Linked DNA regions of Homo sapiens: regions 1 and 3 are each linked to region 2. The links are contacts of gene promoters, found by promoter capture Hi-C in blood cells and fetal thymus (Javierre and others, 2016). All regions are on one chromosome and are shown on one strand. Each heading gives the region's core, a stretch centred on a gene start or on the middle of the fragment in contact. The rest is flanking DNA. Distances are from core to core; before and after follow the strand shown. Region 1 overlaps KCNQ1 (potassium voltage-gated channel subfamily Q member 1). Region 2 holds the start of MRGPRG-AS1 (MRGPRG antisense RNA 1). Region 3 overlaps KCNQ1 (potassium voltage-gated channel subfamily Q member 1).

What was found. The method cuts DNA at HindIII sites, captures the fragments that hold promoters and counts their contacts. A CHiCAGO score of 5 or more calls a contact.
Region 1: a contact is called between a fragment that was not itself captured here and the fragment with the promoter of MRGPRG-AS1 in region 2, in 5 of 17 cell types (non-activated CD4 T cells, M1 macrophages, naive CD8 T cells and 2 more). The highest score is 7.1, in non-activated CD4 T cells.
Region 3: a fragment that was not itself captured here is called in contact with the fragment with the promoter of MRGPRG-AS1 in region 2 in 4 of 17 cell types (naive CD8 T cells, total CD8 T cells, activated CD4 T cells and 1 more); the score reaches 6.6 in naive CD8 T cells.

Annotation. Positions count from the first base shown.
Region 1 is chr11:2,518,389-2,521,088 of GRCh38, reverse strand. All of the region lies in intron 1 of KCNQ1 (potassium voltage-gated channel subfamily Q member 1), which reads right to left. Among named protein-coding and RNA genes, the nearest start is that of KCNQ1, 75 kb to the right of the region's middle. RefSeq lists enhancers at 377-876, 877-1,378. The HindIII fragment of the contact is 5,693 bases long and covers 1-2,700 here.
Region 2 is chr11:3,216,902-3,219,601 of GRCh38, reverse strand. It overlaps MRGPRG-AS1 (MRGPRG antisense RNA 1), which reads right to left and starts at 1,270. Exons shown (of 2, transcript NR_027138.1): 1 at 1,043-1,270. It overlaps MRGPRG (MAS related GPR family member G), which reads left to right and starts at 789. Exons shown (of 1, transcript NM_001164377.1): 1 at 789-1,658. The coding sequence starts at 789. The coding sequence ends at 1,658. The HindIII fragment of the contact is 7,931 bases long and covers 1-2,700 here.
Region 3 is chr11:2,554,175-2,556,874 of GRCh38, reverse strand. All of the region lies in intron 2 of KCNQ1 (potassium voltage-gated channel subfamily Q member 1), which reads right to left. Among named protein-coding and RNA genes, the nearest start is that of KCNQ1, 110 kb to the right of the region's middle. The HindIII fragment of the contact is 654 bases long and covers 968-1,621 here.

The sequences.
Region 1 (2,700 bases), core at 78-2,577, 700 kb after region 2:
AAATTGTGTGTTATGTGTATTTTATCACAATAAAAAAAAAACTTTTTTTAAAGCAAACAACATTCATAGAGCAAGCATCAGAGGGTTCAAAATGTTCCCCGTGGCTGGTGAATGAGATCGAGCAATGTTCAAAGACCCCTACTGGGGACGGGACCTCGCCAGGCTGATAAGCAGACAATGGGTTTGTGAAGCGAACCTAAAGCCGAAGGCAGGATAGGGCCTTGAATGTGTAACTTCAAGAGATTAAATATTGACGCTTAAACCCCAAACCACTTCTAGGGGCTTAAAAAAAAAAGTCATCCTGGGAGACTCCAAATGCCTCCAAATCCCATGTGCCCCAGGAAGGAAACACTGGGCGCTGGAGAGGACAGGCTTCCCCTGCTCACTCACTGGTCACCAGCAGGTCTCCCTCCATCCCTGATGTGGCTGCCGGCTCCAGGGCTGCTGAGCTCAGAGCCCTGGGATGTGGACGCCCAGGGGCAGAGGTCTCACAGCCTGCCAGGGCTGTTCCCCAGGGCTGAATCTGCACCTCAGAAAAAGCTACCAGCTGGTCACCCCCCTCACCAGTGGCTGTCACCCCCCTCACCAGTGGCTGTCAGCAGGCAGCCTCAGCAGGGTTTGGAGGTCGCCAAGGTCCCCACAGGTTCACCTGCTTCCTGGCTCTGCATGGATGGAGCCTGGGCCAGGCATCTCCCGACCCCTCCCAAAGGGGTGAGCCCTGGCCCACACCGAGGGCCCCACGCTGGGCTGGACACTAGGCACAGGTTCCCCGCTCTGAACCCCATGTGGAAGGTGTCACATCATGGAAGTCCTGGTGAGGAGACAGAAGCCCTGGTGAGGCACGTCTGGTCCCAGGCTGCCCCCCAGAAGCCCCCTGGATTGGGGTTCAGGAGGCACTACCAATCGATGGGGACACTGAGGCTCAGACACAGCATGGGACGTGCCCAGACTGGCCGACTCCAGGGGCCCCAGCGCCACCACTTGGTGCCATGGTCCTGAGGCAGGAATGCCACATCAGGCCATACGTCATCCTGGGGGGTGGGGGCGACAGGGCCCTTTTCAGCCTTCCAGCCTCTGCGGGCTCCCGCGTCCTGGGTGGGTGGCGGCATCACTCCCGTGCTGTGCAGCATGTGGCCGGATCCTCCTTTGTTGAATCTGTCCTGTCTTTTAGGAGGACACGTGTCACTGGACTTGGGCCCCCTGGATAATGCAATCACGCCTCTCGGGACCCTCAGCCTCAGCTGCAAAGGGGTGTTTTCTATGTCAGGTCACATTTGCAGCTTCCAGGGATGGAAACCAATGTTGTGGGGGGGGGCCAACACCTGCTGTACTATGTAAGTATTTAATACATTACTTATGATCACTATTGGTAGATTTTGAATTCTTAAACAACAGAATTAGGTATTGGTCAAAAACATATATTAGTTGTTGTTGTTTTTTGGTTTTTTGTTTTGTTTTGTTTTGTTTTTGAGACAGAGTCTTGTTCTGTCACCCAGGCTGGAGGACAGTGGTATGATCCTGGCTCACTGCAGCCTCGATTTCCTGGGCTCAAGCGATCCTCCCAACTCAGTCTCCCAAAGTGCTGGGATTACAGGCGTAAGCCACCATGCCCGGCCTCATGTCTTAATTTTTAAAACATAATTAAAAATGTACTCAAAGCTCAGAGTTTCCTTTTCATCCTCTCACCTCCAGATCCTTAATGGAATTGCATCTGAAAAAATTCTTTTAAAAAGAGGGTCACGTCCACGCCCACTGGTGTCAGCACAGGGACGCCTCTCTCACCATTCAGCCCACAGGGCATCACCCGAACCCTGTCATGTTGGAGAGAAGGGAGCTGGGGGTGGTGATTCCCGGCACAGGCGGGACATGGCTGGCCCATCTGCAGCAGGCAGCTGCCACGTCGGGAGTAGGTCCATGAGGCTCCCTAGCACCCCAGCCCTTCAGGGACCGCCACTTCTCACCAGAACGGCAACAGCTGCCCCCCAACCATTGCCCCTCAGGCCCCCACACAGCACCCTGTCTGCCATTGTCCACACTGCCCAGCTGGTTGGCAGGGCCTTGGAAGCCCCTCCCCTGGCAGCCACAACAGGGCACAAACCACAGAAGGAGCGTGGATGTGATCCCACACCCGCTTCACAGACCCACAGCCTGGTCCTCCCCGTCCAGCTCCGGGTGAATGGACGCCTCCCCACCAGACTGGGCCTCCTTGGCCCAGGGCTCCCGTGGCCACCCCATGCCTCACGCTGTCTTATACTCTTTACCTGTGGCTTGTTCCGCGGCAGCTGAGTCTCATTTCTTTAAAAAGTTCTTGAAAGCCATGGGATCCCAGCCCAAGGGACACAACAATGGGTGACTTGGTGTGGCCGGTGGGTAAGATTTCTGCCCTCATTGTCTCCCGAAGCCCCAAGTGTGCTGTCCCCGTTAGACAGAGCCGCCAGCCCGCCTATCCAGGAGCCATCTGGAGATTAAACCTGTGTCCCACAGCAGGACCAAGGCTGTCCCCAGCCTCTTGGGGTTTCAGCTGACACTTTTTCCAACACAGATCTGGACTGGGAACCCCAAGAAACAGGTCCCTTCCTGCCAGCTTTCGGCTGGGTCCACACAGAACTCCTGTGCCTGCAGCACCTCCCCAGAGGCTGGTCCCCCTGCCGGGGCCACCAGGCCTGCACCCCAACTGCAGCCCACTCCCCTGGTCCCCCC
Region 2 (2,700 bases), core at 21-2,520:
CCTCGCTCCTTGCAAGTGGCCACTTGTATCTGCCCCTCCCCTTGTGTTAGTGGCTCCTGGAGAGGCCCCCTGGCCCTGCCACCATCACCAAAGCCCCTCTCTTGGCTTGAGGCTTCAGAGCAGCCTCCTGAGTGCACCGCCGGCAGCATGAGCCCCGGGATTCAGCTTCTGCTTAGGCCAGGAGTGCACAGGGAAGGCTGGGGGCTCCCTCCAGCTCCTCACACCGCATCTTCCCTCCTCCCTCCTCCTCAGACCACCTGCAGCCTCTGCCTTTGGGCACCTCCCTGGACACCTCCAGAGACCCTCCGGGGAGGGGACTTCGCCAGCAGGCTGGTCTAGGCTCACCAGGTGGGAGCCCCATGAGGGTCCACCGTGGAGAAGCTCCCACCTCTGGGGGAAGAGGAAGGCGCCACACGTGGGTTCCCCATGCACGTTCCCTCTGTCTGCAGACCCTTGTCTGGCACACGGTGGAGGGTGCAGCATCACCCTCACCACATCCATGAGGGACATGGACATCTTTTCAGCAAGTTAGTCCACCCTGCCAGGAGCCCAGGGCCTGCCCTCAGGTATGGGGAGGCATTAGGCACGCCTGACCTGAGGTGCAGAGGGCTGAGACCCGGCTGAGGTCCCGCCGCTGGGAAGGGTGGTCCAGGGGCTGCACCCAGAGGGCACCTGCAGGGCCATGGATGCCACTCCCTGTGCCCCCAGCGGGGGCACAAAAGACTCCTGAGGACCATGTCTGTCTCCATCTTGCAGGTCCCTCGCCAGCACCCTCTGAGCCGGCCAGGATGTTTGGGCTGTTCGGCCTCTGGAGAACCTTCGACAGTGTGGTCTTCTACCTGACGCTGATCGTGGGCCTCGGGGGACCGGTAGGTAACGGGCTGGTGCTCTGGAACCTCGGCTTCCGCATCAAGAAGGGCCCCTTCTCCATCTACCTGCTGCACCTGGCCGCCGCCGACTTCCTGTTCCTCTCCTGCCGTGTGGGCTTCTCCGTGGCTCAGGCTGCCCTGGGCGCCCAGGACACACTCTACTTCGTGCTCACCTTCCTGTGGTTCGCGGTGGGGCTCTGGCTGCTGGCGGCCTTCAGCGTGGAGCGCTGCCTCTCCGACCTCTTCCCCGCCTGCTACCAGGGCTGCCGGCCCAGACACGCCTCGGCCGTCCTCTGCGCCCTGGTGTGGACCCCGACCCTGCCGGCCGTGCCGCTGCCCGCCAACGCCTGCGGCCTGCTGCGCAACAGCGCGTGCCCCCTGGTCTGCCCGCGCTACCACGTGGCCAGCGTCACCTGGTTCCTGGTGCTGGCCCGCGTCGCCTGGACGGCTGGCGTGGTCCTCTTTGTCTGGGTGACCTGCTGCTCCACTCGCCCGCGGCCCAGGCTCTACGGCATCGTCCTGGGCGCGCTGCTCCTGCTCTTCTTCTGTGGCCTGCCCTCGGTCTTCTACTGGAGCCTGCAGCCCCTGCTGAACTTCCTGCTGCCCGTGTTTTCCCCGCTGGCCACGCTGCTGGCCTGCGTCAACAGCAGCTCCAAGCCCCTCATCTACTCGGGGTTGGGCCGACAGCCCGGGAAGCGGGAGCCGCTGAGGTCGGTACTGCGGAGGGCCCTGGGGGAGGGCGCCGAGCTGGGTGCCAGGGGACAGTCCCTGCCCATGGGTCTCCTATAAGTGGGCTTGCCCCGCCCACAGGGCCTGCCAGGAGGTGCCCACCCCCACCGACCCTCGCTCACCCCACACCCAGATGCTTTCAGGACCAGGAGGAGCCCCGCCCACCACCTAGCTCTTACCCTGAGCACCCAAGGGCTGGACACAGCTGGAGAGACTTGGCCCTGACCACCCCCCAGCCAGGCCTGCTGAGGATGAGGGAGGCAGAAAATGGAGCTGGAGAGAGGTCAGGCAAGGAGAGAGAAAGGAGAAGCCTCCTGAATAGGGGTGAGGACAGGCACCACGCCCCCAGGCCCAGCCCAGATCCCCTTACCCGGCCCCTCCCCACCCTGCTGCACCTGAGTCACAGGGGAGAAAACTGCACAATAAAACAGAGCCAGCCACCAGCCCACAGTGGCCGGATTGGAACCCAGGCTTCCGGACTCCTGGGCTAGGTGGGCGCCGTCCATGCCACCTGCTGGCTGAGGCTCTGATTCGCCCCCTACAGAGTTGAGGTGGAACTACTCCTTACTCCCCGCCCTGCTCAGCCATCATTGTCCTGCCCACCCCGCGGGGACCACACCCAGGGCTCTGTCCCCCTCTCTGAGGCCCAGGACTGGCAGGTGCCTGATGTCACCAGCAGAGGCCACCAGGTGGTGCTGCTTCTGCACAGAACAGACCCAGCCCCGTGGGCCGGCGGATGCAGGAGCCTCCATCCCCTCGGTCCCCTCCCATCCCCTCCCACACTGGTCCCCACCCGGCCTCTCCTGCGTCCCCAGGGCCATCCGCTCTCTGCGGGTTGCTCCCGTCTCCCACCTCTGCTCTCACCCTCCCTCCTCAGCCCTGGATCATCTGGAGCTTTTGCCCCAAGTGTTTGCTTTGGAGAGAGAGAGAGAGAGACAGAGAGAGAGAGAGAGACAGAGAGAGAGAGAAAGAGAGAGAGAGAAAAGAAAAGAAGGAAAGAAGGAAGGAAGGAAAAAGAAAGAAAGAAAGAAAGAAAGAAAGAAAGAAAGAAAGAAAGAAAGAAAGGAAGGAAGAAAGGAAGGAAAAAGAAAGAAAGAAAGCA
Region 3 (2,700 bases), core at 45-2,544, 660 kb after region 2:
TGTTATCCATGTTCTGATCCTCATGAAGTTGAGGATGTCACTGAACTCTCATTTCACTGGTTCCTCAAACTCACAGCCAGGTCTGCTACTCTCTAAAGACAGTGTCCACTGTAGTGGGCTCCCTAAGGCTTTCTCCTCAGGAAGATAAGAATTTGCGTGTGACTGCATTTCACCCCTCTCCCTTCACCCCATCAACGGCTCTGTGGGTATAGAAAGCAACCTCCAACATTGTCTTCATAGTTTAGAACAGGGCTTGACAAGCTTTTTCTCTAAAGCCAGATAGTAAATATTTTAGGCTTTGCAGGCCACGCGATTTCTGTTGCAACAACTCCAGCAGACAATTTTGTGCTGTTATAGCACAAAAACAGCCAGAGATGAGATGTTCACAAGCACACGTGGCCGTGTGCTAATCAAATCTTATTTATACAGATCAGCAGCCAGGTTTGTAGGCTATGGTTTACGGACCCTTGGATTAAAGAATCCTCTGACAGGTAGGTATTCCTACCGGCTAAACTGTGTCCCCCGCCCCGCAAATTCATATGTTGAGGTCCTAGACCCTCCAGCACACCTCAGAGTGTGACCTTGTTTGGAAATAGGGTTGCTGCAGATGCTATTAGGTAAGATGAGGTGGTTAGGGTGGGCCCCTATTCCCATACAACTGGTGTTCTTATCAAACGGGAAACCTGGACATGGACTTGCCGGCCGGGGGGCGCTGTATGGAGGCGGAGGCAGGGTCTGGTGCGATGCGTCGACCGGGAACCCTTCCACAGTAGCTGGGGGAGGCCTGGAACACTCCCTCACAGCCTCAGAACGAACCCACCTCGCTGATACCTGGAGCTCAGACTCCTGGACAGGCAGGGGGCTGCAGCTGGCACCCAGGGGCTCCAGGTCATCAGCAAGGCCAGGCCAGAGGTCTGTTCTAGGGTCTCTAGAGAGGTCCAGGCCATAGGCCTCAGGGCCTGAAGCTTCTCTCTCCCCAGGCGGGGTCCCTGTGGGCCTACAAGAAAGTGGGCCCTGTCTCTCCAAGAGGTCTATCAGCCTACCCCTGCCCCATTCCACCAGAAAACCCAGGCTCTGAAGGCAGAACTCAATGTGCCAGTGGAGGCACTCCAGGCCGATGACCAGAAGAAAAGGCCCAGGGGCAGGAAAATGTGGGCATATGGGAGGCACTCAGGGCTCTGAACAGTCAAAAAGGCAGGTGGGGCTGCCCGCAAATCAGGCCCTGAATCCTCTGCTGAGCCCCACAGTTTGGGAGCTGCCTCCCAGGAATCATACCCAGGGCCCCGCACACACAGGAGTGGCCCAAGCCGGCTGCCCTGCAATTTGTGGTGGGGGAGCCCATGGCCCGGAGACGCCCACGCCTGGCTGCAGACACCATTAGCCGCCTGGCAGGCAGCTTTACACGTATTTAAAGCAAATCCCCCATCTTCCCCAGGCAGGGCTGTTTCCGTCTCCAGGCCAGTTAAACGAGGATTTAGTTTCAGCCTGGGAACCCCACTGCTGATGGCTGTTAACCCCAAAGACGGTGCACCCCTCTGATCACTGTCTTAGCTAGAACTGGGATAGGGGGAAAAGGGGGTGGAGCGGGGGACATTATTTTTATCTGCCAGGAGCCGAAGCTTCTAAAAATGTCATATTTAAGAATTTCACCAGCACTAGAAGTTTGGCAAACCAAAGAGACCAGGGGCTGAGCACCCTTCTTTTGACTTGGGGAGAGTGCTGAGAAGGCCGCAGGGTTGAACCCTGTTTACTTTAGCAGAGATTGAGGAGCTGCAACCCACACCGGCCCTTCAGGGGCCCGCGCAGTGTTGGGACAGGAAGGCCTGCGGTTATTAAAGGCTGCCCTGTGGACGTGTGTGTGTGCACGTGTGTCAGCGCGTGTGTGCACACGGGCCTGTCTAGTCTGTTTTCTGACTGCTGAGTACCTCACTCTGATTCTGCAAATCTAGAGATTTTAATAACAGGCGGTGAATTTAAACAGTTGTTTTCCCCCCCTTTCAGGAATGTTTTAAGGGATTGAGAGGAAATTGTGCACGGATTTTGCTGTTTTAAGAGCTAATATGTGAACAACTTCAGAAGGATGTATGTTGTTTTAGGGCTGAAGTTTACACAGTAAACGGGAGAGTCAAAAGCAGACTTGTCGTGAAATTGTAGGGCCTGTCTTCTTAAATTTCATTCCTCTGAGAAGGGACTGCCTCCCTGGGGAGCAAAGCTGGAAGGAAACAGAGAAAGTCTGATCTTTGTCCCCCGTGCCCCTTACGGTGTCCTGTTGCAGAATCCCTGGGGAGGCAGTGCCCAGTGGGATGGCCAGCAGCAGAGACCACCCAGCCCAGGCCCCCTCTCAGGGCACTGAGGAGGGTCCCCCTGCAGATGGCTGCATTCAGAGGTCTGCAAACCCCACAGCCCCTAAGCTGCTCAGGAATGACATGTCAGCACAACATGGTCTTGTTTCCAAATTTGGGCTGGGGCTTCTGCTCCTTGGGGACAAATACTTTCAAAGACATGAACAATCAAAACCTCATCAAGAAGAAATAGACAACCTGCATAGCCCTGTATCTGCTGACTTTCCAATGGCAAACTTCTCCACAAAGAAAACTCCAGGCCCAGATACCTCCACATGTTCTAGCTATCAAATGTTTAAGGGAGAAATAATTGCAATTCTACACAAACTCTTCCTAAAAATTGAAGAGCAGGAAATAT